Regions from separate parts of the Homo sapiens genome. Here regions 2, 3, 4, 5, 6 and 7 are each linked to region 1. Evidence: promoter capture Hi-C in human tissues and cell types (Jung and others, 2019). All regions are on one chromosome and are shown on one strand. The core of a region is centred on a gene start or on the middle of the fragment in contact, and the rest is flanking DNA. Distances in the headings are between cores, read along the strand shown. Region 1 holds the start of RAPGEF1 (Rap guanine nucleotide exchange factor 1). Region 2 has its middle 86 kb from the start of NTNG2. Region 3 has its middle 23 kb from the start of FAM78A. Region 4 overlaps NTNG2 (netrin G2). Region 5 has its middle 11 kb from the start of NTNG2. Region 6 overlaps LOC105376299 (a long non-coding RNA gene). Region 7 holds the start of LOC105376302 (a long non-coding RNA gene).

The links. Contacts are between HindIII fragments. The study calls those that stand out against the background at their distance.
Region 2: a fragment that was not itself captured here is called in contact with the fragment with the promoter of RAPGEF1 in region 1 in 5 of the 25 tissues and cell types used here (dorsolateral prefrontal cortex, heart right ventricle, lymphoblastoid cells and 2 more).
Region 3: a contact is called between a fragment that was not itself captured here and the fragment with the promoter of RAPGEF1 in region 1, in 3 of the 25 tissues and cell types used here (adrenal gland, dorsolateral prefrontal cortex and spleen).
Region 4: a contact is called between a fragment that was not itself captured here and the fragment with the promoter of RAPGEF1 in region 1, in 3 of the 25 tissues and cell types used here (lymphoblastoid cells, spleen and stomach).
Region 5: a contact is called between a fragment that was not itself captured here and the fragment with the promoter of RAPGEF1 in region 1, in 3 of the 25 tissues and cell types used here (adrenal gland, dorsolateral prefrontal cortex and lymphoblastoid cells).
Region 6: a fragment that was not itself captured here is called in contact with the fragment with the promoter of RAPGEF1 in region 1 in 1 of the 25 tissues and cell types used here (spleen).
Region 7: a contact is called between a fragment that was not itself captured here and the fragment with the promoter of RAPGEF1 in region 1, in 2 of the 25 tissues and cell types used here (IMR-90 fibroblasts and dorsolateral prefrontal cortex).

The regions. Positions count from the first base shown.
Region 1 is chr9:131,738,210-131,742,345 of GRCh38, forward strand. RAPGEF1 (Rap guanine nucleotide exchange factor 1) reads right to left here and starts at 1,867. Exons shown (of 27, transcript NM_001377935.1): 1 at 1,561-1,867. The coding sequence starts at 1,621. RefSeq lists silencers at 1,251-1,580, 1,631-1,680, 1,831-2,090. The HindIII fragment of the contact is 28,094 bases long and covers 1-4,136 here.
Region 2 is chr9:132,245,550-132,249,685 of GRCh38, forward strand. No RefSeq gene overlaps it. Among named protein-coding and RNA genes, the nearest start is that of NTNG2, 86 kb to the left of the region's middle. RefSeq lists an enhancer at 1-482. The HindIII fragment of the contact is 5,962 bases long and covers 1-4,136 here.
Region 3 is chr9:131,251,146-131,255,281 of GRCh38, forward strand. No RefSeq gene overlaps it. Among named protein-coding and RNA genes, the nearest start is that of FAM78A, 23 kb to the right of the region's middle. RefSeq lists a silencer at 1,469-1,785 and enhancers at 1,492-1,541, 2,737-3,238. The HindIII fragment of the contact is 9,598 bases long and covers 1-4,136 here.
Region 4 is chr9:132,171,479-132,175,614 of GRCh38, forward strand. The region is part of intron 2 of NTNG2 (netrin G2); the gene reads left to right. Among named protein-coding and RNA genes, the nearest start is that of NTNG2, 11 kb to the left of the region's middle. The HindIII fragment of the contact is 9,420 bases long and covers 1-4,136 here.
Region 5 is chr9:132,148,933-132,153,068 of GRCh38, forward strand. No RefSeq gene overlaps it. Among named protein-coding and RNA genes, the nearest start is that of NTNG2, 11 kb to the right of the region's middle. The HindIII fragment of the contact is 3,649 bases long and covers 503-4,136 here.
Region 6 is chr9:131,336,802-131,340,937 of GRCh38, forward strand. All of the region lies in intron 1 of LOC105376299 (a long non-coding RNA gene), which reads left to right. Among named protein-coding and RNA genes, the nearest start is that of PLPP7, 49 kb to the left of the region's middle. The HindIII fragment of the contact is 6,560 bases long and covers 1-4,136 here.
Region 7 is chr9:132,099,176-132,103,311 of GRCh38, forward strand. LOC105376302 (a long non-coding RNA gene) reads left to right here and starts at 4,045. Exons shown (of 3, transcript XR_930403.1): 1 at 4,045-4,132. The HindIII fragment of the contact is 3,203 bases long and covers 547-3,749 here.

The sequences.
Region 1 (4,136 bases), core at 617-3,116:
CATAATATAATCTTATATTAGATATAAAAAGATATAATATAATCTTATATATTATAAAGTTCTTATAAAAGAACTCAGTGAATGTTCTTTTTAAAATAAATTATCCAAGTTTCCCAACAGTACCGTTCTGACAAGACACTATACAAGAAGTTCCTGAGAAATGCTGCACAGATGAACCCAAGTTATTTCTGGAGCAGCAGGTGTACAGGATGGCGACTCATGGTCACTCGGCAAGGCTGTGGGGGCTCAAATTCAGTGAGAAAAATACTCAAGAAATGGCACCTGAACCCAAGCGCCCTGCCCCTGAGAAAAGCACCCTGGCTTCTGGTCAGAGGGCCAGGAATGAATATACTAGGGGCCTGCCGCCCTCTTGCTGTCTGGACAGCCGGAACTCACTGAACCTCTCTGAGCCTGTAAAACTGGGACCATATTCTTTCCCACAGACTAGCTTCAAAAATTTAAGAAGCAATGCATTTTAGGTGCTAAGAGTTAGATATATAGTAAACCCTCAATAAAGCCTACAAAAATGTCCTTCTGTGCTTCAACCACAGCCTGCAAAAGTCATATTGCCTTGTGGGTCCGCTGCAGGGGTGCACCCCACAGAAGTATCCCAGATTCAACCCAGGAAACATAAGCAACTTCCACAATCAAAGCCACAGACCTCCTTTGCAGCTCCCTAAAAATCTGCTTTCCCTCATTCAGCCGCCAAGCTAACCTGCTACCGGGGTTATGACCACAGGGCATGCTCCCAGTACAGGAGCCCAGGAGCACCCGCCCACTTCACCTTAGACCCAAGAATTCGCATTTGCCCTGCAAGGTGCTGCAGGCTAATAAAGCCTGGGGCCCCACAGGCTCGACAGTCATTGAATCTTTGGAGACTCTATTTCCAGGACAGGCAAACCCAGGGACTCGGAAGGTAACTCCCCCAGATTTCTAGGAACACACAAAGAGACGAGGTCTGCATCAAGATTTACCATCTACTCCAACCCACCGGTCCCCCACCTGCCCTCCTTGCAGAGCTGAGCTTGATCGGGGTGGGGAGGGGAAACTTGACTACCTCCTCAAAATACCCCCACTCATCCAGCCTGCTTCCTTTGAAGCAACCGAAGTGGACGCTTCTCGTTAAACTCGAAGCTCGTTAGAAATGACACATTTTACAGCTCAGCTGGGTTCACCCTCCTAGCGCCGAGCCCAGGCCGGGCACCGATCGCTGCAGCCGCAGCAGCACGCGGCCCGGGCTGTTCTTCCCCTGCTTGGGGCTCGAGCCATTTTCGGAAGTTCCCGGGGACCGCGGAGCGGCTAGCGCGCCCGGCCCCGGGTTGCAGGGGCCCCGCCCGGCCCGGCCCCTGGCGCCCCCGCAGCGGCCGCTTCCCCCCGCGCCCGGCAGGCAATGGGCCTGGAGGAGAAGCTGCCAGGCGCCCCGGCGAGGCCTCGGTGGCTTCACCCCGCCCCGGCGCACGGAGGGCCGCACATCCCGGGCGACCCGCGCTCGGCCCGGGGAGCGGCGGAGCCCCAGGGCCGGGCCCGGCCGGAGGGAGCCGCCCCACGCCCGCGCCTCACCTGCTTTCTCGATCTTGCCGGACATTTCCGGGCTGCGCCGGAGGCCGAGGCCGCCGCTCATCGGGCCCGGGCCGGGCCGCCGCGGGGCGACAGGGGCGGCGCGCCCGCCGCTCGCCTCGGCCCTGGCTCGCCACGCCTCAGACCCGCGCCGGCATGGCGGGCTCCGCGCGGCCGCGGCCCTGCGCTCGGCGACCGCGCTCCAGCCCGCCCGGGCCCAGCCGCTCCCGCCGCGCCCGCCGCCGCCGCTCCGCCTCCCGCGCGCCCGCCGCCGCTCCCCCGGCCCGCGAGCCGGCCGCAGCGCAGCGACGCCGCCCGCCCGCCCGCCGGGCCTCGGCCGCGGCCACGGCCACAGCGCCACCTGCCGGGCGCCCGCCGCGCCGCCACAGCGCCCCCTGTGGGCCCGGAGCCGCCCGAGCCTCCCGCGCGACGCGCGAGACGCAGCGCCCCCTGCCGAGCCGGAGTCCCCACGCCGGGGCCTGGGGCCTGGGGTGTGGGGCCGACCCCGCCTGGGACTCCGCATTCCTCTGCTGTGGGACCAGAGTCACCAGCTCCAGACCTGGGACTGACAGCTCCAACCCAGGGTCCTCGGTTGCCCAAGAGCCTGGCCTGCCCCCTCACCAGAGACACAGAGAACCCTCCTGGGTCAGATTTTCCACCCCAGGACGTGGAACTGACGCCCACCCCACCCTAGCATCATCCCGGACCCAGCATCCCCTGTGGGCCAGAGGCTCCACACCAGGGCCTAGAACTCACTCTCACCAGGACTCAACAAGCTCTGCTGGCTGGGAGCCTGTCCTGACCTCCCCCAAACCAGAGATGCAGCACCCCCTTTTTTGTTTTGTTTTTTGTTTTTGAGACCGAGTCTCACTTTGTCGCCAGGCTGGAGAGCAGTGGCGCGATCTCGACTCACTGCAACCTCTGCCTGCCGGGTTCAAGCAATTCTCCTGCCTCAGCCTCCTGAGTAGCTGGGATTACAGGCACATGCCACCATGCCCAGCTAATTTTTGTATTTTTAGTAGAAACGGGGTTTCGCCATGTTGGCCAGGCTGGTCTCGATCTTCTGACCTCATGATCCACCCACCTTGGCCTCCCAAAGTGCTGGGATTACAGGTGTGAACCACTGCACCCTGCCCGCACCCCCTTCTTAATTGGAGACCCCACACCAGGGCCTGGGAGTGGCCTCATAGCACCTCCTGCCAGCCCAGAGGCTCCAGCCGGGGAATGAGTCCACTCTGGCATGAAAGCCCTCTGCTGGCCCAAGGTCTATGCCAAGGCGGAGGATTCATTCTCCACCCCAGCCCTGCATGTGGGACTCAGTCACCCTGCCAGCGAGAGCCACCTGTCCCGGGCTGGGGTTGGCCCTACTCAGGCCTAAATGTCCCCTGAGGCCTAGAGCCTCCATGCTGGCCTGGGCCCAACTCCCTCAGGGACACAGCACACCCTGCCTGCCCTGCTTATTTGACATCCAGAAGGGCACCCTGGGGCTCAGCTGTGGAACTTTTCTAGTGTGGAAATGAGTTCATTAAAAGTCGTGGCTGGGCACGGTGGCTCACGCCTGTAATCCCAGCACTTTGGGAGGCCGAGGCAGGTGGATCACGAGGTCAAGAGATTGAGACCATCCTGGCCAACATGGTGAAACCCCATCTCTACTAAAAATACAAAAATTAGGTGGGCATGGTGGCACACGCCTGTAGTCCCAGCTACTTGGGAGGCTGAGGCAGGAGAATCTCTTGAACCCAGGACATGGAGGTTGCAGTGAACCGAGATCATGCCACTGTACTCCAGCCTGGTGGCTCCAGAGCGAGACTCCGTCTCAAAAAAAAAAAAAAAGTCGTGGTTGGGCACAGTGGCTCACGGCTGCAATCACAGCACTTTGGGAGGCTGAGGTGGGTGGATGACTTGAGCCCAGGGGTTCGAGACCAGCCTGGGCAATGTGTGAAACTCCGTCTCTACTAAAAATACAAAAATTAGCCAGGCACGGCGGCACCTGCCTGTAGTCCCAGTTACTTGAGAGGCTGATGAGGGAGAATCACTTGAGCCCTGGAGGCAGAGGTTTCAGGGAGTCATGATTGCACCACTGCACTCCAGCCTGAGTGACAGAGGAAGACCCTGGCTAAAAAAAAAAAAAAAAAAAAGGAAAAAAAAAGTCATTTAAGAATCAAAGGATCTGCTAAGTCTAAGCACTATTTCGGGTTCTGTGGGCCCTACAAAAGTGGGCACAATTGGTGCTTCCCTCCAAAGAGTTCACAACTTAGCTGGGAAGTCAAAGTTAAATCCTATAATACAAGTAGTAAATAACAACAAATTAGTAACGCAAGTGATGTTCCAATGTGGGGCAATTCTGCTGCCTGCTTCCTGTTGTTAGTCTAAGATGGAATACAAAGAAGTAGCACGCACCACCTGGGCTAGTTTTCCCTCCTGTTTCCCCCAAAATAAGTAAATTAAATAACCTAGTGATGGGGACAGGATTTGGGGGAGGTGCAGGGAGGAGGAAAAACTGCTAATGTTGTGAGAGATTCTTATTCCCATCTCCCTGGACAGTCTAAAGGGTCACCGATTCCACAACTAAGAGCTAG
Region 2 (4,136 bases), core at 1,084-3,583, 510 kb after region 1:
ATCATCATCACCGCATCCCCAGGCGCTGCGCTTACATTACTGCATCAACCCTCACCTGCACCCTAGGGCAAGGTTTTCAGCCTCAGCACCATTGACCTGGGGGGCTGGGTAATTCTCCATGGTAGGGCGTGGGGGCTGCCCTGTGCACGTGGGATGTGCAGCACCATCACTGGCTTCCATGTGGCACTTCAATGTGCACCGTCCCCAGTTGTTGCAACTCAAAGTGCCTCCAGTAATTGCCAAATTGGGGGCAAAATCGTCCTAGATTGAGACTCGCTGCCTCAGGAGGAAAGGATGGTCATGCCCATTTTACAGAGGGTAAGTGAAGGCTGGGAGAGGCAAAGTCACTTGCCTGGGGTCACAGTTTCTAAGAAGCAGAGAGGAGAGTTGAACCCAGGGCTGCCTGACTCCAGAGCCCAGTGTTTCACCCCCAGGCCAGGCAGCCCTGGGCAGGCATTGGGCATCCACTCCCCGGCGGGCGGCTGCAGCTGCCCCCCCACCTCCATGCCTCCAGCTGCCTGCCTCCTTTGGCGCCCACAGCCAGGTCAGGCTGAGCAAGGAACCCTGGGGAGCCCAGCTTCCTCTGAACCGCTCTGCTGTCAGGGGAAACGCCTCCCCTGGCCCTCTGCGGCAGCATGGCCTGTCCCCTGCCCCCACCCACTCCCCTAAATAAGCAGAATTGCTGCGTCGGCATTTCCTGCCCAGCTCATGCCTTACAGTTACGAGGCATTTATGGGAGCTTGGGGAGCAGCCAGCAGCATCTCCCGGCAGACCTGAGCCCGCCTCCCTGTCTCCCCAGGGGCCTGGTCCATCCCGGCACATCCCAGCCAGAAGAGTTAAGGGAAAGGCCCCAGGAAGAAAAACATTACTTATTTATTTTTCCGTTTAAACCACCTGTCACAACTTGTAGGAAAGTTCGAAAATACAGAAAAGCAAAATCATAATAATTTTTCTATTAAACTCACCCACAATTCTTCATCCAGAGCTAATAACTGTTAATACTTTTTTTTTTTTTTTTTGAGACGGAGTCTCGCTCTGTTGCCCTGGCTGGAGTGCAGTGGCACGATCTCGGTTCACCGCAACCTCCACCTCCTGGGCTCAAACCATCATCCCACCTCAGCCTCTGGAGTAGGGGGAACTGCAGCTGTGCACCACCACGTCCAGCTAATTTTTCATATTTTTGGTAGAGGCGGAGTTTTACTATGTTTTCCAGGCTAGTCTCGAATCCCTGGGCTCAAGCCATCCTCACTCCTCAGCCTTCCAAAGTGCTAGGATTACAGGTGTGAGCCACCACGTCCAGCATAACTGTTAATGTTTTCTGATAGATATTTCTAGTGTTTTTCCATAAAATAAAACCCACACTCAGACATCGCCCCCCACCCCTGCAATTGCTAAGCCCTAGCACTGAGGCTGGACATGCCTTATTTCAAGGGTCCCTTCAGTGATGCTGAGCGTGGGATCAATTAATATAATATGGCCATCTTACAGCTCCACATACCAGGGCTCTGAAAGCGTCCTGGCCAGGGACCTTAGCCACAAGCACCGAAACAAAACACCAGGTGATTTAAGAGGCAGAGGAGATTAAAGGATCACAGACCCCTCAGACACATGTCAGGAGAACAAGGTAAGAGTAGGGAAAGTGGGCCACGCGGTGGCTCACACCTGTAATCCCAGCACTTTGGGAGGCCAAGGCAGGCAGATCACCTGAGGTCAGGAGTTCGAGACCAGCCTGGCCAACATGGCGAAACCCCGTCTCTACTGAAAATATAAAAATTAGCCAGGCGTGGTGGTGGGCACCTGTAATCCCAGATACCTGGGAGGCTGAGGCAGGAGAATCCGTTGAACCTGGGAGGTGGAGGTTACAGTGAGCCGAGATCGCGCCACTGCACTCCAATCTGGGCAACAAAGCAAGACTCCGTCTCAAAAAAATAATAATAATAAAAATAAAAACTAGCTGGGTGTGGTGGCAGATGCCTATAGTCCCCCCCCCAACTTGGGAGGCTGAGGCAGGAGAATCCCTTGAACCCAGGAGACGGAGGTTGCAGTGAGCCGAGATCACGCCGCTGTACTCCAGCCCGGGCAAAGAGCAAGACTCCGTCTCAAAAAAACAAACAGCTGGGCTCAGTGGCTCATGCCTCTAATCCCAGCACTTTGGGAGGCTGAGGTGGGTGGATCACCTGAGGTCAGGAGTTCGAGACCAGCCTGACCAACATAGAGAAACCCCGTTTCTGCTAAAAATACAAAATTAGCTGGGCATGGTGGTGCATGCCTGTAATCCCAGCTACTCAGGAAGCTGAGGCAGGAGAATCGCTTGAACCTGGGAGGCAGAGGTTGCAGTGAGCTGAGATTGTGCCACTGCACTCCAGCCTGGGCAACAAGAGCAAAACTCCATCTCAAAAACAAACAAAAAAACAAAAAAGAGGAGGTAAAGTGGAGTCAGGAAGGGCACCCAGTATCCCGCCCAGGGTGGCTGGAGAGCCAGAGCTTCAGATGCTGCCTTGGGCGCTGCCCTGGGCACATCCCTCACCCCCAGGGCTACCCCCTGCTGGCCTCCCCACCACAGCCCCCACCACGCACCCGCACCCTCCAGTCCAGCATTTGCCACTCCAGCAAGGGGGGGTGGGCTCTGTTTCCTCAACCAGAGGAAGAAAACAAAGAAAGAATGTCCACCACGGAGCGGGTGTGTAAGTTGCCCGGGGTCGCACAGCCAGGAAGAGCCAGAGGCCAGGATTCAAATGCACTCTCTTGGGCAGGCTGCACAGCCCTGCACCTTTTTTTATTTTATTTTTTCCCTTTATTTATTTATCTTATTTATTTTTAACAACAATGGCCTCATCGTATACACATCCTTCTTTAGCCTGCTATATAAAACTTAGCACTGTATCTAGACTATCAAAGGAGGCCTTTTAAAATAAAAGAGAGGCCGGGCGTGGTGGCTCACGCCCACAATCCCAGCACTTTGGGAGGCCGAGGTGGATGGATCTCCTGAGGTCAGGAGTTCGAGACCAACCTGGCCAACAAGGTGAAACCCCCTTCTCTACTAAAAATATAAAAAATAGCTGGGCGTGGCTGCAGGTGCCTGTAATCCCAGCTACTCAGGGGGCTGAGGCAGGAGAATCGCTTGAACTCAGGAGGCAGAGGTTGCAGTGAGCTGAGATCATGCCATTGCACTCCAGCCTAGGTGACAAGAGTGAGACTCCATCTCAAAAATAATAATAATAATAAAAGAAAAAAGAAATGCAAGGCCAGGCACAGTGGCTCATGCCTGTAATCCTAACACTTTGGGAGTCCAAGGCGGGCGCATCACTTGAGGTCAGGACTTCCAGACTAGCCTGGCCAACATGGCAAAACCCCGTCTCTACTAAAAATACAAAAATTAGCTGGGCGTGGTGGCAGGTGCCTGTAATCCCAGCTACTCGGGAGGCTGAGGCAGGAGAATCGCTTGAACCCGGGAGGCGGAGGTCGCAGTGAGCCTAGATCATGCCACTGCACTCCTCTGGGTGACAGAGGGAGACTCCGTCTCAAAAAAAAACAAAAAGAAATGCAAAGCCCCACCTTTCATTTTTTGCCCAGCCTCTCACCCTCTTCCCCTCCCAGCCTGGGCCGGCTGGCAGTGGGACTCTGGCTCCCAGGGCAGGGGGTTGCCATGTACCCTTCTGACACCTCAGGGTCTGGCCCAGTGCCTGTGCTCCTGGTGGCACAGGAGACCTTGCTGCCCCACAGGGGCGGCCAGGTGGAGGCACCTGCGGCCAAAGTGCTCCAGATGGCTTCCAGCCAGAGGCTCTCTCCCTGGATGATGGAGCAGGTGGCCCTTGGGACCCAGCCAGGAGTAGCTGGAGTGAGGCCCAGAGTCCTGGGAGCTCGTGCCTTTCACTGCTGACCCAGTGCCCGCATTTCTGCCCCTGAAGGGGAGGGCAGCTCCTCAGGCAGAAGGACGGTGAGCTCTGGAACCTGATTTGGGCTTGAAGCTGTACCCCACACCTGCCAACTATACATCCTTGGGCAAGTTCCTCAGTCTCTCTGTGCCTTGGCCATCTCATCTGTGAAATGGGGATGTTAAAAATAGCGCCTGCAGGGTGGGGCCGTTGTGAGGAGTGAATGAGTTGAGCCGCGCAGTGTTTAGAACAGGGCCTGGC
Region 3 (4,136 bases), core at 915-3,414, 490 kb before region 1:
ATGGGGTTTCACCATGTTGGCCAGGCTGGTCTCGAACTCCTCACTTCAGGTGATCCACCCGCCGCGGCCTTTCAAAGTGCTGGGATTATAGGCGTGAGCCACCGCACCCGGCCGCACCTATGCTTTTGATGATGAGTCCAATGACAGTGATTGCGGTTAACACGGATCAAACCTTAGGCACTGGCTGCCCACCTCGGTCAGGCTGCAACCAGGAAGGAGGCAGCCCACCCTCCAAGGGACACGTGGTCCACATGAGCAGCTCGGCCAGGGGCCTTTCTTCCACCCACCTCATCTATCTGCCTCATTTATACCAAGTGGGCCCGGGACAGATGCCGGCCACGGCGCTGCACAGCCTCAAAGCATGTCCAGCAAGATGGCCTGTGGGGTGGGGGACCTCACCCCTTGTATTGTTTTGTCCTCTCAAAGTCTCAGCTAAAATTGGGGCAGCAAATAAAAGCTTTTTGGGCGGTGGGGGGTGGGGCAGGGATCGGGTCTCGCTGTGTGACCCAGGCTGGAGTGCAGTGGTGCAATCACAGCTCACTGCAGCCTTGAACTCCTGGGCTCAAGCAATCCTCCTGACTCAGCCTCCGGAGGAGCTGGGATTACAGGCATGCCCCATCACGCTGGGCTAATTTTTTCTATTTTTTGTAGAGATCAGGGTCTTACTATGTTGCCCAGGCTGGTCTCCACTCCTGGGCTCAAGTAATCCTCCTGCCTTGGCCTCCCAAAGTGGTGGGATTACAGGCATGAGCCGTGGCGCCCAGTCAAGAAAACCATTTTATCATCCTGTTACAACAAGGTCAATAATAGGTGTTAGCTATTGGCGGTTCTGTGCTGAGGGCCTTGCCTGATGACCCCCCGGAACCCTCCTCCCTGTGAGGAAAGCGTAACCCTGTCTTGCAGATGAGGAAACCGAGGCTCAGTGGTGCCGCCGAATCACTCGGATTTGCTAAGCGCTTACTCTGGGCTGGGCACTTGTCCAGAAGCTCAGGACCATCGGCTTCACGTGCCTCCGCAATCTCGTGAGGTGAGGAACCACCTCCGTCCCCACTCCATGTCCTAGGAAACCGAGACCTGAGAGGAGGGGGACTTGCTCAAGGTCACAGCCGTAGAGGCACCGCCCGCCCAGGAGGGCTCACATGACCCTCTCCGGCCTCCAGGCCCAGCTGCAAGAGGAAGCACCGTCCTGGGGAGCCCGGAGACCCAGGCCCCCCTCACAGGCGAGGGGCTGGCACGCGGCCTCTGGAGGAACTTCTGGCCTTCACCGTCTCCGCCTGGTCACTCGTCAATGGCCGGCTGCCTTCTGGAAAGCTGCTGCTGCGCGACAGTGACCCTGGGTGGAGTGAGGCATCCACGGGTGCTCGCTCCCAGAGATGGAGGCCGGAGCCCTGAGCAGAGGCGCCGGCTGTGCCCCGGTCCTCTGTGGCCCCCAGGGCTGCAGAGCTGGGCAGGTCGATTCCCTTGTCACTCCTAAAAGAACATTTGAAGCCCCCAGCAGGCTGGTGTGGGCACCCCAGTTCCTCAGCTACTCTGGGCTCTCCTTCCCCAGAGGCTGTGGGACCTGCCTTCCGGCCTCCGTCACATGACCGCACAGCGAGGAGGCGCTTCTGTGAACCAGGAGGTGGCCCTCACCACGCAGAAACTGTGGGCGCCTTCATCTTGGACTTCCAGCCTCCAGAACTGTGAAGGATTGGTTTCTGTGGTTGACGAGGCATCCGGTCTATGGTTACTTTATTCTAGAGCCCAACTGGGCCAAGGTGATTGTACGTATCTGTGAATATACTAAAACCATAGAACCGTACACTTTCTATTTGCTTTTATTTTGTGAGACAGGGACTCACTGTCGCCCAGCTGGAGTGCGGTGGCACGATCAGGGCTCGCTGCAGCCTCGACCTCCCACCTCATTCTCCTGAGTAGCTGGGATGACGAGAATGTGCCACCGCGCCCAGCTAATTTTTGTTGTTGTTGTTAGCTTTTTGAGATGGAGTCTCACTCTGTCACCCAGGCTGGAGTGCAGTGGCACAATCTCGGCTCACTGCAACCTCTGCCTCCCGGGTTCAAGCAATTCTCTGACTCAGCCTCCCGAGTAGCTGGGGTTACAGGCGCCCGCCATCACACTCAGCTAATTTTTGTATTTTTAGTAGAGACAGGGTTTCTCCCTCTTGGCCAAGCTGGTCTTGAACTCCTGACCTTGTGATCCACCTGCCTCAGCCTCCCAGAGTGCTGGGATTACAGGCATGAGCCACTGAGTCTGGCCTATGCCTGGCTAATTTTTAAGTTTTTTTGTAGAGATGGGGTCTCACTATGTTGCCCAGGCTGGTCTCAAACTCCTGAGCCCAAGATCCTCCCACTTCGGTCTCCCAGAGTGCTGGGATTACAGGCAGGAGCCACTGCACCGGCCAGAACCGTACACTTTTTTTTTTTTTTTTAAATGGAGTCTTTGTCACCCAGGCTGGAGTGCAGTGGTGCAATCTCACTGTAACCTCTACCTCTCAGGTTCAAGTGATTCACCTGCCTCAGCCTCCTGAGTAACTGGGATTACAGGCGTGTGCCACCATGCCCTGCTAATTTTTGTATTTTTTTCAGTAGAGACAGGAGTTCGCCATGTTGACCAGGCTGGTCTTGAACTCCTGACTTCAGGTGATCTGCCCGCCTTGGCCTCCCAAAGTGCTGGGATTACAGGCAGGAGCCACCACACCCAGCCAGAACCGTACTTTAAATAGGTGAGTTGTGTGGTATGTGAACTGTATCCCAATAAAGCTGAGGTAAAGCATTTTAATACGTTTGTGTGACTGTCTGACCAGCATTCAGTCTGCATTTGTCATGGATGCTGAGAATCCCACATCACTAAGCCAGGCCCCTGTGGTCTAGATGTTGCAGAAGAATTGAGCCGTATTTAGAGAGAAGAGTCCCTGGTCTCTGAGCTAAGCCCTGGTGCTCAGTGTGATTATTCTGGGGGCTCCATTTGCATGTTTAACACGGAGCACAACTGCTATGCCTTTGCTGGGCCCCGGACCGGGGAGGACAGGGTAAGTGTGCGTGTCTCTGGCCTGACGATTAGGAAACTCAGGCATGTGAGGTTGAGCGACAAGCCTGGCCTCACTCAGCAAGGCAAGTGGCAGCCAGGAATAGTGCAGGGCTCCCAGCTGTGTCTGGCCCGCCGTAAACACCCACCCTTCTTCTGTCTGATTGAAAAGGGAACATGAAATAAGAACCAGGGCTCAGGCTGATACAGGAACTAATCCTGCCTCTGCATTCCAAGTCGTGCCGTCTGGGCCTGAAGGGAGCTGGGCTGGCCTTCGCCAGTTCCCATGTTGATTTCGGGTTCACCTCCCTGCACACAGGCACAGAGATGGAGTTCATTCACTCCGACGTGTTCGCTTGCATTTAGTAGTTTCCATCGGCCGGGCGCAGTGGCTCAAGCCTGTAATCCCAGCACTTTGGGAGGCCGAGGCGGGCAGATCACTGAGGTCAGGAGTTCGAGACCAGCCTGGCCAACGTGGTGAAACCCCATCTCTACTAAAAATATAAAAATTAGCCGGGCGTGGCGTGGAGCGCCTGTAATCCCAGCTAGTCAGGAGGCTGAGGCAGAATTGCTTGAACCCGGGAGGCAGAAGTTGCAGTGAGCTGAGATTGCACCATTCCACTCCAGCCTAGGGGACAAGAGTGAAACTCCGTCTCAAAAAAAAAAAGTTTCCATCGTCCAGGGTCAACAGGGCTGCTAAGGACTCGGACTCAGCGTCATGCCGAGGAACCTTAGCAACAGGACAGCTGAGGGCAGTCTGGTAGAACTGGGGTACCAGAAGGCTGGGGTGTCATAGAAGGAGCTGAGACAAAGCACGGGGTCAAAGGCCGGGTGTTTGAAACCAGCCTAGCTCTGCATCTTCCCAGAAAAGTGACCTTTGGCAAGCCCCTTGGTCCCTTCTGTGGGGCAGCGTCCTCACTGATTGAAGGGGAAGAGCATACTTGAAGGGTCAGCAGTGGCAGGAAGGGGCCTGGACAGCACCGGAGTGGCTGGTTGTGCCCTGTGATCCTGATGGGCAATTTTTGGACTGTCACACAGTAAAATATTTGCTTTCATCCTATGCCCAGACCCCAACCAGGTGGGAAGCCATTTCTGTGGGGGCGCCCAAGCA
Region 4 (4,136 bases), core at 1,046-3,545, 430 kb after region 1:
TCAGCCATGTTGGAGTCTCCAGCATACAGAGGCACCTTGGCTTTGGTGGACAGGAAAGCCAAGGGCAGGCTGTGAACGTGCATCTTTGAACACACATCTTACTCAGTTAGAACCTGCTTTAGCTTCTCTGTGCCTCAGTTTACCCAGCTGCAGAGCAAATGGTTCCATTCCTCCCCCAGGGGGTCTGCTGGGCTGTTGAATGCAGACAGCAGGCAGGTCCTGGAGTCCTTGAGCCACTCCTCACTGTGACATTGAACACCACATGCAGAATCAAGGTCACAGACACTCTGCCTCCTGCCAGACCTTGAGGATCATGAAATGTTTCCATCCAACAATGCAGAGCTGACCGGCCCGATGGCTCTGGCCTCCTTCCCCCTCTGTGTTTCTGGCCCCAGCCTCCCTCCTCTCGCCGTCACAACCCTCCAGTCGGCAGATGTTTCCAGGTATGACCTCATGCCAGGCACAGTTGTGATGGGAAAGTGAGATGACTAGAGATAAATTAAGTGAAAAACAAGAGAAAAACACTACAGACATTGAAGACAATACCCAGCTAACCACAAATGGTGACACCGGGGCCTGATATGATAGGAGCTGGGGAAGGAGGAGGGCGTGCCCCTCCCCATGAACTCTCCGGGCGCTCCAGCCTTGGCCCGTGCTGTCTCCTCCACCCGAATGCCTGCCCCCTCCTTCCTTTCTTTTCAAGGCTTCCGCTTCTACCTGGATAACCCTGGCTCCTTTTTCAAGGTTCAGGTTGGACCCTACCTCCTCCTCCAGGAGGCCTTCTCTGACTCCTTTGCCCAGTGGGGTGAGGAGGCCCTCATTTGGTCATCATCCTGCTTACTGACTGGCCTATCAGTGAAGAGTTCTGGCCCTAGGAATGGAGAGTTTAGAATCCCGTGCTGTGTGATCTCTGATGTGAGACCTAACCTCTCTGAACCTTAGTTTCTCAATGGGAGCTATTAATAGAACGTGCATAGGAGACTGTCATGAGCACGGTGCTTGGCACATAGTAGTTGCTCACTGCGTGCTGGCTGTTGGGACCAATTCTGTAACTTTAGATGTCTGCTTTTCCCCTGGACTGTGAGCTCCTCAAAGGCAGGGCTGTCTCGCTATCTTTGCATCCCCAGCACCTCCCTCTGGACTTGATCAGTGCCCAGTAAGCATTTCCTGAATGAATGGATGCATGGGAGGAAGCATGGTGTGATCCAGGAACGCTTCTCAGAGGAGGCAGGATCAGGGCTGTATTTTTTTTTTTTTTTTTTTTTTTTGGAGTCAAAGTCTCGCTCTGTCGCCCAGGCTGGAGTGCAGCGGCGCAATCTCGGCTCGCTGCAAGCTCTGCCTCCTGGGTTCACGCCATTCTCCTGCCTCAGCCTCCCCAGTAGCTGGGACTACAGGCACCTGCCACCACGCCAGGCTAATTTTTTGTATTTTTAGTAGAGACGGGGTTTCACTGTGTTAGCCAGGATGGTCTCGATCTCCTGACCTCGTGATCCACCCACCTCAGCCTCCCAAAGTGCTGGGATTACAGGAGTGAGCCACTGCACTTGGCCAGGGCTGAGTCTTGAAGGAAAAACTGGGGTTTGGGTCAGGACAGAGGAGACCCTGGAAGCCCCTGCTTCTCTCCACTGCAGTCCCTGTTCTGTGGGATTTGCGATTGGATGAAGCCGGGAGGTTTGCACAACTCTGTCCTTAAGTCAGTTGCAAGTGACTTCGGCACCTGAGCTGCACCAGCCGTTAAAGCCACTCAGTCTCTTGAAATGCCCGAGGCAGGGCCCAGCCTAGGACAAGAATAGTTCTGTGAAATGACATCTTGTTGCACAGTGAAGTCTCCCTCCTGGGCAGTAGACAATGAGAAGACCGAGGCCCGGGGCCCAGGGAGTGAGACCCTTGCTTCTGACTTCCCTTGAGGGAATGAGGTTGGGTCCAGACACCCCGTGGAAGGCAGGCAGCTGTGTGAAAGGGCCCAGATGGGACATCTTTCCAAAGAATGTCAGAGACTTAGAGACCCCCAGACCTTTCCGGTCTGCGCATCCCCACCTTCCCAGGCTGTCTTCCTCTATGCTTCCTAACTCTGATGTTTAATCCATTTCCCTTTTTCTCATTTACTGTGGGTATAATGACAAGCTGCCTCCAATCCCACCTGCGATGGGGCAGGCAGTGGATGGATGGACAGACGAACGGACAGACAGGCAGGCCGCACCATGCTGCGGATGAGACGGATGGATGGACAGACGGACAGACAGGCAGGAGCACCATGCTGCGGATGAGATGGATGGACGGACGAACGGAGAGGCAGGCAGGTCGAACCATACTGCGGATGAGACGGACGGACGGACAGACAGGCAGGCCACACCATGCTGCGGATGAGATGGATGGATGGACAGACGGACAGACAGGCAGGCCGCACCATGCTGCGGATGAGATGGACGGACGGACGGACAGATGGACAGACAGGCAGGAGCACCATGCTGCGGATGAGATGGATGGACAGACGAACAGACAGGCAGGCAGGTCGAACCATGCTACGGATGAGACGGACGGATGGACGGACAGGCAGGCAGGCCACACCATGCTGCGGATGAGATGGACAGACGGACAGACGGACAGATAGGCAGGCCGCACCATGCTGCGGATGAGATGGACAGACGGACAGATAGGCAGGCCGCACCATGCTGCGGATGAGACGGACGGACGGACAGGCAGGTCGAACCATGCTGCAGATTAGACGGACAGATGGACGGACGGACAGACAGGCAGGCCGCACCATGCTGTGGATGAGATGGATGGATGGACAGACGGACAGACAGGCAGGCCGCACCATGCTGCGGATGAGACGGACGGACGGACGGACAGACAGACAGGTCGAACCATGCTGCAGATTAGACGGACAGATGGACGGACGGACAGACAGGCAGGCCGCACCATGCTGCGGATGAGAACTTGGGCTTCTGGAGGGAGGAGATGGGGCCCGGGGGCATCCCGCACTTCTGGGATGTGGGACTTGGGATAAGTCCCTTGTGACCCTGAGCCTTGGTTTTCTCATCTGAAACTGGGCATGGCGCTGGACACAACCTCGAAGGACGTGTGTACAAATAAGACGAGACCAGGCGTGTGATGACCTCAGCTGGGAGCCAGCACAAAAGGAATGCTCAAAAAAAGGGCCGGGTGCACGGTGGCTCAAGCCTGTAATCCCAGCTCTGTGAGAGGCTGAGGTGGGCGGATCACCTGAGGTCAGGAGTTCAAGAACAGCCTGGCCAACATGGGGAAACCCCGTCTCTACTAAAAATACAAAAATTAGCCGGGTGTGGTGGCGCGCGCCTGTAATCCCAGCTACTTGGGAGTCTGAGGCAAGAGAATCACTTGAACCTGGGAGGTGGGGTTTGTAGTGAACTGAGATCGTCCCACTGCACTCCAGCCTGGGCGACAGAGCAAGACTCTGTCTCAAAAAAAAAAAGTGTATTTTTATTTTTATCCTTTTTAATTCTAGAATTTAGCTTGAGGGACAGAAGAGGACCCCATAGGCCAAACCCACAGCCAGAGGCACAGGCTGTGGGCTCAGAAGTGGGTCTTGCAGGATGGGAAGGGTCAGGAGAGTGAGGATGTGGGCAGAAGGAATGGTTCGTGCAGAGACGCAGGGAAGGGGGCCAGGTGATTCGAGGGGAAAGTGTGTGGGTGACAGAGAGGAGACAGTCCACTCCCCCTGCCCACCTCATCCAAGCCCCTGTAGGTCTGTTACTGTGCATCTGACCGGTGAATATTCTGAGACTTCTCAGAGCCCACTGAGTGTAGGAGCTGGGGTTCAGCCTTCCTGTGTCTGGCTCCTGACCGCTCGCTAGGGTTAGGAAGGATTAGGCCACAGGCTCTGAAGGAGCAAGAGGGGCAGGAGGGCAATTGAGGGGCAATTGAGAGGAACCCAGAACATGGAAGCCCTGTGCCGTGGGGCTGGTCCAGAGCTCACCAGGCTGGACCACGTGGTTGCTGAGCCATGGCCCCTGACCGGGGCTGACCTGGCCAGAGTCCCTGTGGCCAGCACTGATGCAGGGCTCCTTCCTAGAGGGGCCGGGCCATGAGGAACAGGAGAAACGGCAGATGATGCGGGAACCGGTCTGTTCGGCTTTGGTTTGCAGGATCCGATT
Region 5 (4,136 bases), core at 1,077-3,576, 410 kb after region 1:
GAAAGCGGGTGGTGAGGGGGGCACCCCTCTTCATCCGCTGTGGGAATTCCAGGCAGCTCGGGAGAACTTGGACGGACTGTTTTCATTAGGAGTCATACCCACTAACCCACACACAGACCTCTGCACTTCTCATCTGAACACGGAGAATATATTTCAGAGCCATGATTGTCTCACTATGTGTGTGAGGGGGAAAAGCTGACAGGTAAGACAATCCTATTCAGGAGAGAGACAGAGAGAGAGAGAGAGGAGAGAGAGAGAGAGGGGAGTGTGCAATAGCAAGAACTAGAAGGAAATGCACTTTTATTATTATTATTATTATTATTTTAAGACAGAGTCTCGCTCTGTCACCCAGGCTGGAGTGCAATGGTGCGATTATGGCTCACTAGGTAGCCTCGAACCCCTGGGCTCAAGTGATCCTCCCACCTCAGCCTCTTGAGTAGCTGGAACCACAGGCGCCGGCCACCATGCCCAGCTATTTATTTTTATTTTTATTTTTTGTAGAGATGAGGTTTTGCTACATTGCCCAAGGCTGGTTGCAAACTCCTGGCCTCAAGCCATCCTCCCACCTTGGCCTCCCAAAGTTCTGGGATTACAGGTGCAAGCCGCTTTGTCTGGCCAAATTTGATTTTAAATATGCCAATTAGCATCGATGCTGATCCTATTAATCCACTAATTACTTAGCTTTACCTGAGCACACAGGAGTCATTTAATATAAACTGCACATACCCCTCTTCTTACTCATTGCTTGTCGGGTCATTCAGCTAGCACACATGTATTGAGTGTCTACTGTGGGCAAGGCACAAGAGGTCTTCACTGAGCCAGCCAGGCAAAGCCTTCCCCTGTGCAGCTTGCAGTCTGGTGGAGGTGTGAGGAGGGGGCCCCAGTAACCAGGAAGTCACAGCATGGTGTGGGCAGGGCTCTGTATCAGGGGAAACATCGGATCAGGTGGGAGCTGCGGAGGCCTGGGCACCCCCAGCATCGGCTCCCTCTGACCCTCTGGCTGTCTGCCTCCTGACCCATCTGGGTTTCAGGAGGGTAGAACTATATCAGTCTTGTTCTGTCATTCTTCTGGATAAGGCACATGGAACGGCCCTGGTGGGTACTTATTAGATGAATAGACATCACTTTTTAACACCTACTCAGGCACAGCCCTTGGCATGACCGGCCTGTTTCATGCTGCATCATTGCTGTCTCTATTTCCTTTTTGTAGATAAGGGGACTTGGAGAGGTGAGATTGTTCGCATCGGGTTATACGGTGAGAGAGTTGTAGAGTGGGGATTGGAACTACTTCTTTCCCAAGATCTCATTCCCCCCATTCCCCCTTCTCCCAAAGCCAGACCTGCTTCCATCAGCACCTGCCACCTTCTCAACAGCCTGTGCCAGGTAGAGGTGAGGGAAGGAAGGGCAGGTGGGAAGGAGGGTAGAAGGAGAGGGCAGTCTGGAGTCAGGAATATCCGCGGCGCCCAGTCTTGGCGTCTTGTGATGCTGAAACTCAAGAGCCCCCTGACTCAGCAGGATATTAATAACCCCGGCCGGTCCTGGGAGGGCACCTCTGCCAGGGAGGAGAACAGCACGGCTGTGCGCCCTCCCTGCCGCCGGTGGCAGCTCACACTCTACTGTGCTCACCTTGCCTGGCTCCCCACACAGGGAGCTCCCTGGAAGCTCCTTGGAGCAGATGCTGCTCTGTATCTCCAGACCCTAACACAGAGCTTGGTGCACTGAAGGCACTCAATAAATAACTGTGGAGAGAATGAATGGATGGACGGATACATAAACAAAGCTTCAAATTTCCCAGAAACATCCCTCCCAGTTCCTCTCCCTACTTTATCATCCAGTTGCACATAATATGTGCTCAATGAACACAGGTTGGCCAGGCATGGTGGCTCATACCTGTAATTCCAGCACTTTGGGAGGCAGAGATAGGAGGATCACTTGAGCCCAGGAGTTCGAGACCAGCCTGGGCAACCTAGTGAGACCCCTGTCTCTACAAAAAATAAAAAAATAAAAAATTAGCCAGGCATGGTGGCACACATTTGTAGCCCCAGCTACATGGAAGGCTGAAGTGGGAGAACTGCCTGAACCTGGGAGGTAGAGGCATGTCCTCACCACTGCACTCTGGCCTGGGCAACAGAGTGAGATCCTGTCTCAAATAGTAGTAGTAATAATAATAATATTAATAATAATAATAAACACACAGGTTGCTTGCTTCATGTTTAACATTGCCCTCAATTGAACACATTTCTCAAGTACCGTGTGTGTCTGGTGTGGCCCTGGGCTGTCTATAGGGTGGGTAGAGACTCATCCTCATCCTCTAAAACAGGGAGAACATGGAGTCCAATGTGCCTCTCCCCCATCCAGACAGACATGACGAATCCATCGCCAGGCAGCCATGACTAGTCAATCACAGCACTCTGTCCTGATAACCTGGGATCCAGCTCAACACAGCCCCCTGGTCAACACTGATACTTGGAATTTTCCCCCTCTTCACCCTCTCTGCCAGCTGCACTTCTCCATCTGAGTCTGAGAGACCACAGACGAGGGCAGCCAGAGAAGAGCCCCCTCTTCCAGAAGCAGAAGCTACTCTCCTCTCTGGTTATAAAATGCAGAGTGGTGGGTGGGCTTAGCTGGGGGAAGGTTACTGGGGACAGTAAAGCATAGGCTCTATAGGACCAGAAGTTGCCTTCCTGCTCTGCTGTGGGAGGACCCCAAGGTGGCCCGACCCCAGTGACCTGGGCCCTGAGGGGGATGCTTGGGAGCGGGGTCTTCCTGAAAACACCCTAGGGAATCCCAAGGGCAGCAGAGAACCACATCACCCCAAACTCTGGGCTGCGGGCATGTGCACATGTGTGTTTGAGGTCAGCAGTGATTATCAGTATACTGAACAACCAGCAGGCCATGGGTGCCGCCCAAGGGGACAGGCAGGTGCCAGGTGAGCGCAGGAGTGAGACCTAGAGGTCCTGCTGCTGTGCCAGGCACTAGCCCAGGTAGCTGCTGGGTTTGGGGGAGGTCTAGCTATCTAGAGGTTCCCAAGGAAGGGTGCTGAGTGGCCTGGGAAGTGGGATGGGGAGACCCTCCAGGGGCCCAGAATAGTGGCTCTTTGCCGACAGTAAATGCATGAAGTATTTCAATGTTTCAACAAATGGGAGTGGTGGCCCTCGTGCAGACCAGCCGGACAGCAGCAGCCCCACATATGGATGCCTCATGCCAAGAGGTTCTTTCTGGAAACTGCCTGGTCATACCTGGTTAAGAGGTTCCAGCCTCACCCTTGGGCTCCCAAGGCCCTGCAGACACAGAGCAGTTGCTCGGTACATGTTTGGCCATTTAGCTGCAAAAGGAGAGTTTTTCCCAGTGTACCATAAGGCATTTCTGGAGCTCACATTGACAAAAATTAAAAATCAAAGCACAGACCAGAAGCTCAGGCCTGTCTACCCGGCCCGCCGCCTCTGTGTTCCCCAGTGGCCGCGCCGCTGGCTGCCCAGGGCGTCACCTGTGCCATGTGCATGGTGTGTTAATGTCAGGCTTCTAACAATCCTGTTCTTGACGCATGTCTCTCCTCTCCTTAGGGAGTTGTCATTGTGTTGATCGTTCAGGGAAACATTTGTACTGGGTGAGCTGAGACTCCTGTGTCAGGAGAGGACCTGGGAGGCCAGCAGCTTATCTGAAAATGTTAGCACTGGAAGCACCCTCAGGTGCCACCAGCTCAAACTCCTCCCTTGATGGATGAAGATCTTGAACCCCAGAAATGGAGTCAGGGACTCAGCTACAGTCCCAAAGCTTTCAGGGGACAGAATTGGGGCAAGAAATTCTGAGAAATGTGGGCGGGGAAGGGTCAAGGCACTGGCCGTGGGGTCACAGGCATGTGTTTGGATCCTGGTGTAGGACTTGGATCAAGTTGTTTCACCTTTCAGAGCCTCAGTTTCCCTATCTGTAAGGAGGGACAAGGAAGAGCCCCCGCTTCCAGGTCTGGCACATGTTCTGTTATGTGGGGCGCGAGTAGGGGTTTGGAAGAGAGAGGTGGTGCTTTTGGCTGCACAGTGAATGGGTGTTGTAAGCTGACCTCAGAGAATGAGTTCATTTGAACAGGAGTTCAGGGATATATCCCTCTATTTGACAGGAAAGTATATTTTCTTTGCCTT
Region 6 (4,136 bases), core at 1,199-3,698, 400 kb before region 1:
AGGCTTGTGTTTGAGATGCGATGGCCAGGGAGCCCACCTTTGAGGAAATACCCGAAGCAGTGAGGGAGAGATCTTTGCAGAGACCTGGGAGGCCAGCGAAGGCCTGTGCCAGTTCAAGGAAGAGCGAGAGGTCAGTGGGGTCAGCGCGGAGCGATGGGGGCCGGAGGAGATGAGGGGAGAGGGGCTGTGTGTCACGATCAGTGCAGTAGGATGCGTAATGAAGGGCCCTGGCCCAGGTGGCCATGGAGGCCTCCCAGAGCAAGGAGTGTCCAAGCTGCGGGTGGCAGAGAGGGGTGGGAGAGCTCGGAAGACCTGATCCCAGTGCGGCCCCAACACTAACATCCTCTGTGGTCCAAGATCAGCCCACATCCCCTGAGCTCAGTTTCCTCATCTGCAACATGAGGGAGCTGGCCTAGCTACAGCCCCTCTTTCTCTAATCTGACACCTGCCGCTGGGGCCAGGGCTCCAGCCTGACTGCGTAATGCACAGGGACCCCCAGCTAGCTCAGGGTAGGCGGCGTTCGTGAAAGGTCCTCACACCCTCCAGTCCAGGCTTTTGCAACCCCTGGGCCTCAGCTGGATGTGTGAGTGGAGTAGGGGCAGCATCAGATCTTTTGACCTGAGGAAGGCCAGCAGCAAATGCCCCAGGATCTGAGAGCTTGCTGTGCTCGCTGCTACCAAGTTGTCTTTGCTTACAGGCTGTTAAGGGGTGAATTGTGCGTCCCCAAAAAAATATGCTGATGTTCTAACCTCCAGTCCCTCAGAATGTGACCTCATGTGGTCTTTACCGAGGTAACCGGGTTAAGATGCGGTCATCGGGGGGTGAGACCCTAATCCAATATGACCGGTGTCCTTATAAAAAGGGGAAATGTGGCCCGGTGCAGTGGCTCACGCCTGTAATCCCAACACTTTAGGAGGCTGAAGTGGGAGGAGCCCAGGAGTTTGAGATCAGCCTGAGCAACATAGGAAGACTCTGTCTCAATAACAACATAAAACTAGCCGGGTGTGGTGGCACCACATGCCATGGTCCCAGACACTCCGAAGGCTGAGGCAGGAGGATCACTTCAGCCCAGAAGTTTGAGGCTGCAGTGAGCTAGGATCACACCACTGCACTCCAGCCTGGGCCACAGAGTAAGACTCCATCTCAAAAATATGAAATTAAAATCAAAAGGAGGGGGGCAGGCGTATTGGCTCATGCCTGTAATCCCAGCACTTTGGGAGGCCAAGGCAAGTGGATCACTTGAGGTCAGGAGTTCGAGACCAGCCTGGCCAACATGGTGAAATCTCGTCTCTACTAAAAATATAAAAATTCGCCAGGCATGGTGGTGCATGCCTATAATCCCAGCTACTTGGGAAGCTGAGGCAGAAGAATCACTTGAACCTGGGAGGCAGAGGTTGCAGTGAGCCAAGATCATGCCCCTGCACTCTAGCTTGGGCAACAGAGCAAGACTCTGTCTCAAAATAAATAAATAAATAAAAAATAGAAAGGAGAAATGGCCACACAGAGAAGACATGCAGAAGGAAAGAGGGAAAGCAACATTAACACGCAGAGAGAAGGCCGGGCGCAGTGGCTCACGCCTGTAATCCCAGCACTTTGGGAGGCTGAGATGGGTGGATCACCTGAGCCCAGGAGTTCGAGCCCAGCCTGGACAACATGGTGAAACTCCATCTCTACTAAATACAAAAATTAGCCAGGCATGGTGGTGAATGCCTGTAATCCCAGCTACTTGGGAGGCTGAGGCAGGAGAATTGCTTGAACCTGGGAGGCGGAGGTTACAGTGAGCTGTGATTGCACAACTGCACTCCAGCCTGGGTGACAGAGCTCTGTCTCAAAAAAAAAAAAAAAGACACAGGGAGAAGACAGGCTGTGAAGAGGGAGGACAGGAGTGACTCCGCCACACTCCAAGGAACACTGGAGGCTGCTGGAGGCTGGAGAGAGGCCTGGGCAGAAGGATTCCCAGCACCTTCAGACGCAGCGTGGCCGAGGCTGCAGAGAGGCCTGGGAGGGAGGATTCCCAGCACCTTCAGACACAGCGTGGCCCTTTCCACCCCCTCACTTTGGACCTCAAGCCTCCAGAAATTTGGGGCAGAACATTTCTGTGTTCTAAGCCACCAGTTTGTGACATTTTGTTACCGTAGCCCTGAGAAACTACGCCACAGCTCTTCCAGTGTGCCAAAGACAGGAAGGCTACCCCCAAATTCATAAGTTCATGTTGATATTTCTTTCTTTTTTTAACACTTTATTTATTTATTTATTTTTATTTTATTTTTTAAATTATACTTTAAGTTCTAGGGTACACGTGCACAACATGCAGGTTTGTTACATGTGTATGCATGTGGCATGTTGGTTTGCTGCACCCATTAACTCATCATTTACATTAGGTATTTCTCCTAATGCTATCTCTCCCCCCTCCCCCCACCCCACAACAGGCCCCAGTGTGTGATGTTTCCCATCCTGCGTCCAAGTGTTCTCATTGTTCACTTCCCACCTGTGAGTGAGAACATGCAGTGTTTGGTTTTCTGTCCTTGCGATAGTTTGCTCAGAATGATGGTTTCCAGCTTCATCCATGTCCCTGCAAAGGACATGAACTCATCCTTTTTATGGCTGCATAGTATTCCATGATGTATACATGCCACATTTTCTTAATCCAGTCTATCACTGATGGACATTTGGGTTGGTTCCAAGTCTTGGCTATTGTGAATAGTGCCGCAATAAACATACGTGTGTATGTGTCTTTATATTAGCATGATTTATAATCCTTTGGGTGTATACCCAGTAATGGGATCGCTGGGTCAAATGGTATTTCTAGTTCTAGATCCTAGAGGAATCACCACACTGTCTTCCACAATGGTTGAACTAGTTTACACTCCCACCAACAGTGTAAAAGTGTTCCTATTTCTCCACATCCTCTCCAGCACCTGTTGTTTCCTGACTTTTTAATGATCACCATTCTAACTGGTGTGAGATGGTATCTCACTGTGGTTTTGATTTGCATTTCTCTGATGGCCAGTGATGATGAGCATCTTTTCATGTGTCTGTTGGCTGCATAAATGTCTTCTTTTGAGAAGTGGTTGTTCATATCCTTTGCCCACTTTTTGATGCGGTTGTTTGATTTTTTTTCTTGTAAATTTGTTTCTTTGTAGATTCTGGATATTAGCCCTTTGTCTGATGGGTAGATTGCAAAAATTTTCTCCCATTCTGTAGGTTCACTCTGATAGTAATTTCTTTTGCTGTGCAGAAGCTGTTTAGTTTAATTAGATCCCATTTGTCTATTTTGGCTTTTGTTGCCATTGCTTTTGGTGTTTTAGTCATGAAGTCCTTGCCCATGCCTATGTCCTGAATGGTATTGCCTAGGTTTTCTTCTAGGGTTTTTATGGTTTTAGGTCTAACATTTAAGTCTTTAATCCTTCTTGAATTAATTTTTGTATAAGGCATAAGGAAGGGATCCAGTTTCAGCTTTCTACATATGGCTAGACAGTTTTCCCAGCACCATTTATTAAATAGGGAATCCTTTCCCCATTTCTTGTTTTTGTCAGGTTTGTCAAAGATCAGATGGTTGTAGATGTGTGGTATTATTTCTGAGGGCTCTGTTCTGTTCCATTGGTCTATATCTCTGTTTTGGTACCAGTATCATGCTGTTTTGGTTACTGTAGCCTTGTAGTATGGTTCAAAGTCAGGTAGCATGATACCTTCAGCTTTGTTCTTTTTGCTTAGGATTGACTTGGCGATGCGGGCTCTTTTCTGGTTCCATATGAACTTTAAAGTAGTTGTTTCCAATTCTGTGAAGAAAGTCATTGGTAGCTTGACAGGGATGGCATTAAATCTATAAATTACCTTGGGCAGTATGGCCGTTTTCACCATATTGATTCTTCCTATCCATGAGCATGGAATGTTCTTCCATTTGTTTGTGTCCTCTTTTATTTCGTTGAGCAGTGGTTTGTAGTTCTCCTTGAAGAGGTCCTTCATATCCCTTATAAATTGGATTCCTAGGTATTTTATTCTCTTTGAAGCAATTGTGAATGGGAGTTCACTCATGATTTGGCTCTTGTTTGTCTGTTATTAGTGTACCGGAATGCTTGTGATTTTTGCACATTGATTTTGTATCCTGAGACTTTGCTGAAGTTGCTTATCAGCTT
Region 7 (4,136 bases), core at 898-3,397, 360 kb after region 1:
CTGCAGAGTAATACGTTCAATAACTTTTGCTCTTTTTGCTCTCAAAGATAGGTCTCTTTTTGGAGTCGATAGCGCAATAAATGCGGATCTGGTGCAAATTCCAATGGAAAGAAAAGATATTGTTATTTAAAGGCCAAATAACGGCTTAAAATTAGAGTTGTGAAGGCATTGAAAAACACCAGACTTCCCAGATGGCTTGGAGATAATTCACTTTGCACTCAGTCCACTCACACGCTAAAAAAAAATACTTTGACTCTGTTTCTCCTCAGATTGAAAGTTGGTGCCTGCTTTAAACATATGTGCTTCTCTCTTTAAATTTAGCTCTGAGTCATGTTGTATTACATTAGGAATTCAGCAGGCAGGCACTTGGAAAATGTACATCAATGCGTTTATTTTTAAATTATATAAAAATAAAAATATATATGTTTAAATATATTAGGCTATATTTTTGCCCAATTTCAAAATGGTTGTTCTCCAGAACAGATTAGATAAAACAATAATAACGATGATGACACTATGGTTCTGGAACACTGCCCGTTCCCAAGGATCCCAAATCAACTTGACAAACCCTGTCGCTTCTAGCCCCCAGTCCAGCTATGCGCGGGACTTGTCACAGAAACCTCCGCCTCCGTGGGGGACCAGGCAGCTCCCCAAACAGCTGCAGGGTGGCCTAATTAAGATGCTCCTTCCTCCAGAATGTCAGGTCTCTGGGCAGAAGTCAGCAAAGGCTGGGGGCTGGGGACAGTCAGGGAGGCAGAGGCAGACAGTCTGGAGGGACATCTTTAGCTTAGTGGCTAAGCTCATGGGCTGAAGGCCCCACCAAACAACGCTGGGTGCAAATCCTGGCTCTACCCCTTCTAATCTATGCATCCTTAGAGAAGTGATGGGGCCTCATTTGTGTCTCAGTTCGTCACCTGTGAAATGAGTAATGGTTCCTACTTCCCAGGGTTGCTGTGAGGACTACCAGGGATAATCCCTTTGATTCATTTAGTCATTCACTCACCACATATTTATTAACATCCACACGACAAAGTGGTGAATAAAACAAACAAACCCATAATCCCAGGCCTCATAGAGCCTGTGGTCTAGTGGGTAGAGAGACATGAATGAATAAAAAACCCTGATGATTTAATCAGAATTGTGATGAGCACAATGAGGGAGAATTTGCAAAGTAAGGCCCACCCAGATCAGAAGGCTCCAGAAAGCTTCAGCAAAGAAGGAATGTAGACTGTGGTCCGGTGCCTGCCACACAGTAGGTGCCTGTTAGTTCCTGTATGCATTTCCTTTGGTTGCTGTCACAAATTGCTGCAAACTGAGTGACTTAAAATAACATATATAGATCGGGTGCAATGGCTCATGCCTGTAATACTGGCACTTTCGGAGGCCATGGCGGGCAGATTACCTGAGGTCAGGAGTTCAAGACCAGCCTGGCCAGCATGGCAAAACCCCGTCTCTACCAAAAACACAAAAATTAGCTGGGCATCTCACACCAGTTAGAATGGTGATCATTAAGTCAGGAAACAACAGATGCTGGAGAGGATGAGGAGAAATAGGAATGATTTTACACTGTTGGCGGGAGTGTAAACTAGTTCAACCATTGTGGAAGACAGTGTGGCGATTCCTCAAGGATCTAGAACTAGAAATACCATTTGACCCAGTGATCTCATTACTGGGTATATACCCAAAGGATTATAAATCATGCTACTATAAAAACACAGGCACACATATGTTTATTGCGGCACTGTTCACAATAGCAAAGACTTGGAATGAACCCAAATGTCCATCAATGCTAGACTGGATTAAGAAAATGTGGCACATATACACCATGGAATACTATGCAGCCATAAAAAAGGGTGAGTTCATGTCCTTTGCAGGGACATGGATGAAGCTGGAAACCATCATTCTGAGCAAACTATCACAAGGACAGAAAACCAAACACCACATGTTCTCACTCATAGGTGGGAAGTGAACAATAAGAACACTTGGACGCAGGGCTGGGAACATCACACACTGGGGCCTGTCATGGGGTGGGGGGCAGGGGGAGTGATAGCATTAGGAGAAATACCTAATGTAAATGACGAGTTAATGGGTGCAGCAAACCAACATGGCACATGTATACATATGTAACAAACCTGCACATTGTGCACATGTACCCTAGAACTTAAAGTATAATAATAGTAATAATAAATTAGCCAGGCATGGTGGCTCATGCCTGTAATCCCAGCCACTCAGGAGGCTGAGGCAGGAGAATCACTTGAACCCAGGAGGTTGCAGTGAGCTGAGGTCATGCCACTGCACTCCAGCCTGGGTGACAGAGCAAGACTCTGTCTCAAAAAATAATAATAATATTAATAATAACATTAATAGTATCTTGCAGTTCTGGAGGTCATAAGTCTGAAATGAGTCTAATTTGGCAAAGAGCAAGGTGTTGGCAGGGCTGGGTTCTTTTTTGGAGACTCAAAGCAAGAATCTGTTTCCTCGCCTTTACCAGCTTCTAGAGAATTCCTTGGCTTGTGGCCCCTTCCTCCACCTTCAAAGCACATCACTCCAACATCTGCTTTCATGGTCATATCTCCTTTTTCTGACTTTGACCCTCCTGATTTCCTCTTATAAGAATCCTTGCGGCCAGGAACAGTGGCCAACACCTGTAATCCCAGCACTTTGGAGGCTGAAGTAGTAGGATCACATGATGCCAGGAGTTCAAGAGAAGCCTGGGCAACATGACAAGACCCCGCCTCTGTAAAAAATTAAAAATTAGCCTGGTGTGGTGGCACTGGTGACCCCAACTACTCTGGAGTCTGAGGCTGCAGTGAGCTATGATTGCACTACTGCACTCCTGCTTGGTTGACAGAGCAAGACTTTGTCTCAAAAAAAAAAAATCCTTGCTGTTTGATTAAACCCAACTTAATCTCCTCATCTTAAGATCCTTAATGTAGTCACCTCTACCAAGTTCCTTTCACCTGTCAGGTAACATATTCACAGGTTCTGGGGATTAGGATGTGGAAATCTGTAGAGGGGCATTATTCTCTCTACAACAGTCCAGGAAGTTCAATATCCAAAATGAGGAATTCCAGGTCAAAAAAAAAAAAAGAGATAGAGAGAGAGAAAATAGAGGGGCAGAAGTTATCAAAGAAAAATAATACATGACAATTTCCCAAAACTTTAGGGCAAACATTTCCAGATTTAAAGAGCCTTCAGAGTGCCAGTGTAAAATCATGTCAAAAGCTTCCAAAGACAGAATGTCATACACAAAAGATCAAGGATCAGGCACTGGACTTTTTTTTTTTTTTTTTTGAGACGGAGTCTCGCTCTGTCGCCCAGGCTGGGGTACAGTGGTACAATCTCGGCTCACTGCAACCTCCGCCTCCCAAGTTCAAGCAATTCTCCTGTCTCAGCTTCCCAAGTAGCTAGGACTACAGGCATGCGCCACCGTGCCCGGCTAATTTTTATATTTTTAATAGAGACGGGGTTTTGCCTTGTTGGCCAGGCTGGTCTTGAACTCCTGACCTCAGGTGATCTGCCCACAGGCATTGGACTTTCTAACATCATCACTGGAAATTGGAAGAAGGCACAGGCCTTCATAATCTTGCGGAAAAATATTTCCAACCTAGAACTTATTGATAATCTTATTTTATTTTTAGAAAGAGGGCCTTGCTATGTTACCAAGGCTGGAATGCAGTGACTCTTCACAGGCACGACTGTAGTGCACTAGTCAGGCTTGAACTTCTGGCCTCAAGTTATCCTTCCACCATAGCCTCTCAAGTAGCTGGGACTAAAAGTATGCACCACCATGTCCAGCTGATAATTTTTTTTCTTTTAGAGATAGGGTCTCACTATGTTGCCCAGGCTGGTCTTGAACTCCTGGACTCAAGTTATCCTCCCACCTCAGCCTCTCAAAGTGCTGGGATTACAGGTGTGAGCCACTGCACTCAGCCTCCAGCTGATAATTTTATCAATCAAGTGTAAGTGTGGACTAAGTATGTTTCAGACATGCCTGGTCTCACTGAATTTTCCTTCCATGCATCTTTTCTCAAGAAGCTACTAGAGGACGTGCTCCATCAAAATGAGAGAGTAAACCAAGAAAGTGGAAAACAGAGAATCCAGGAAACAGGGGATGCAACAGAAGAGAGAGGTAA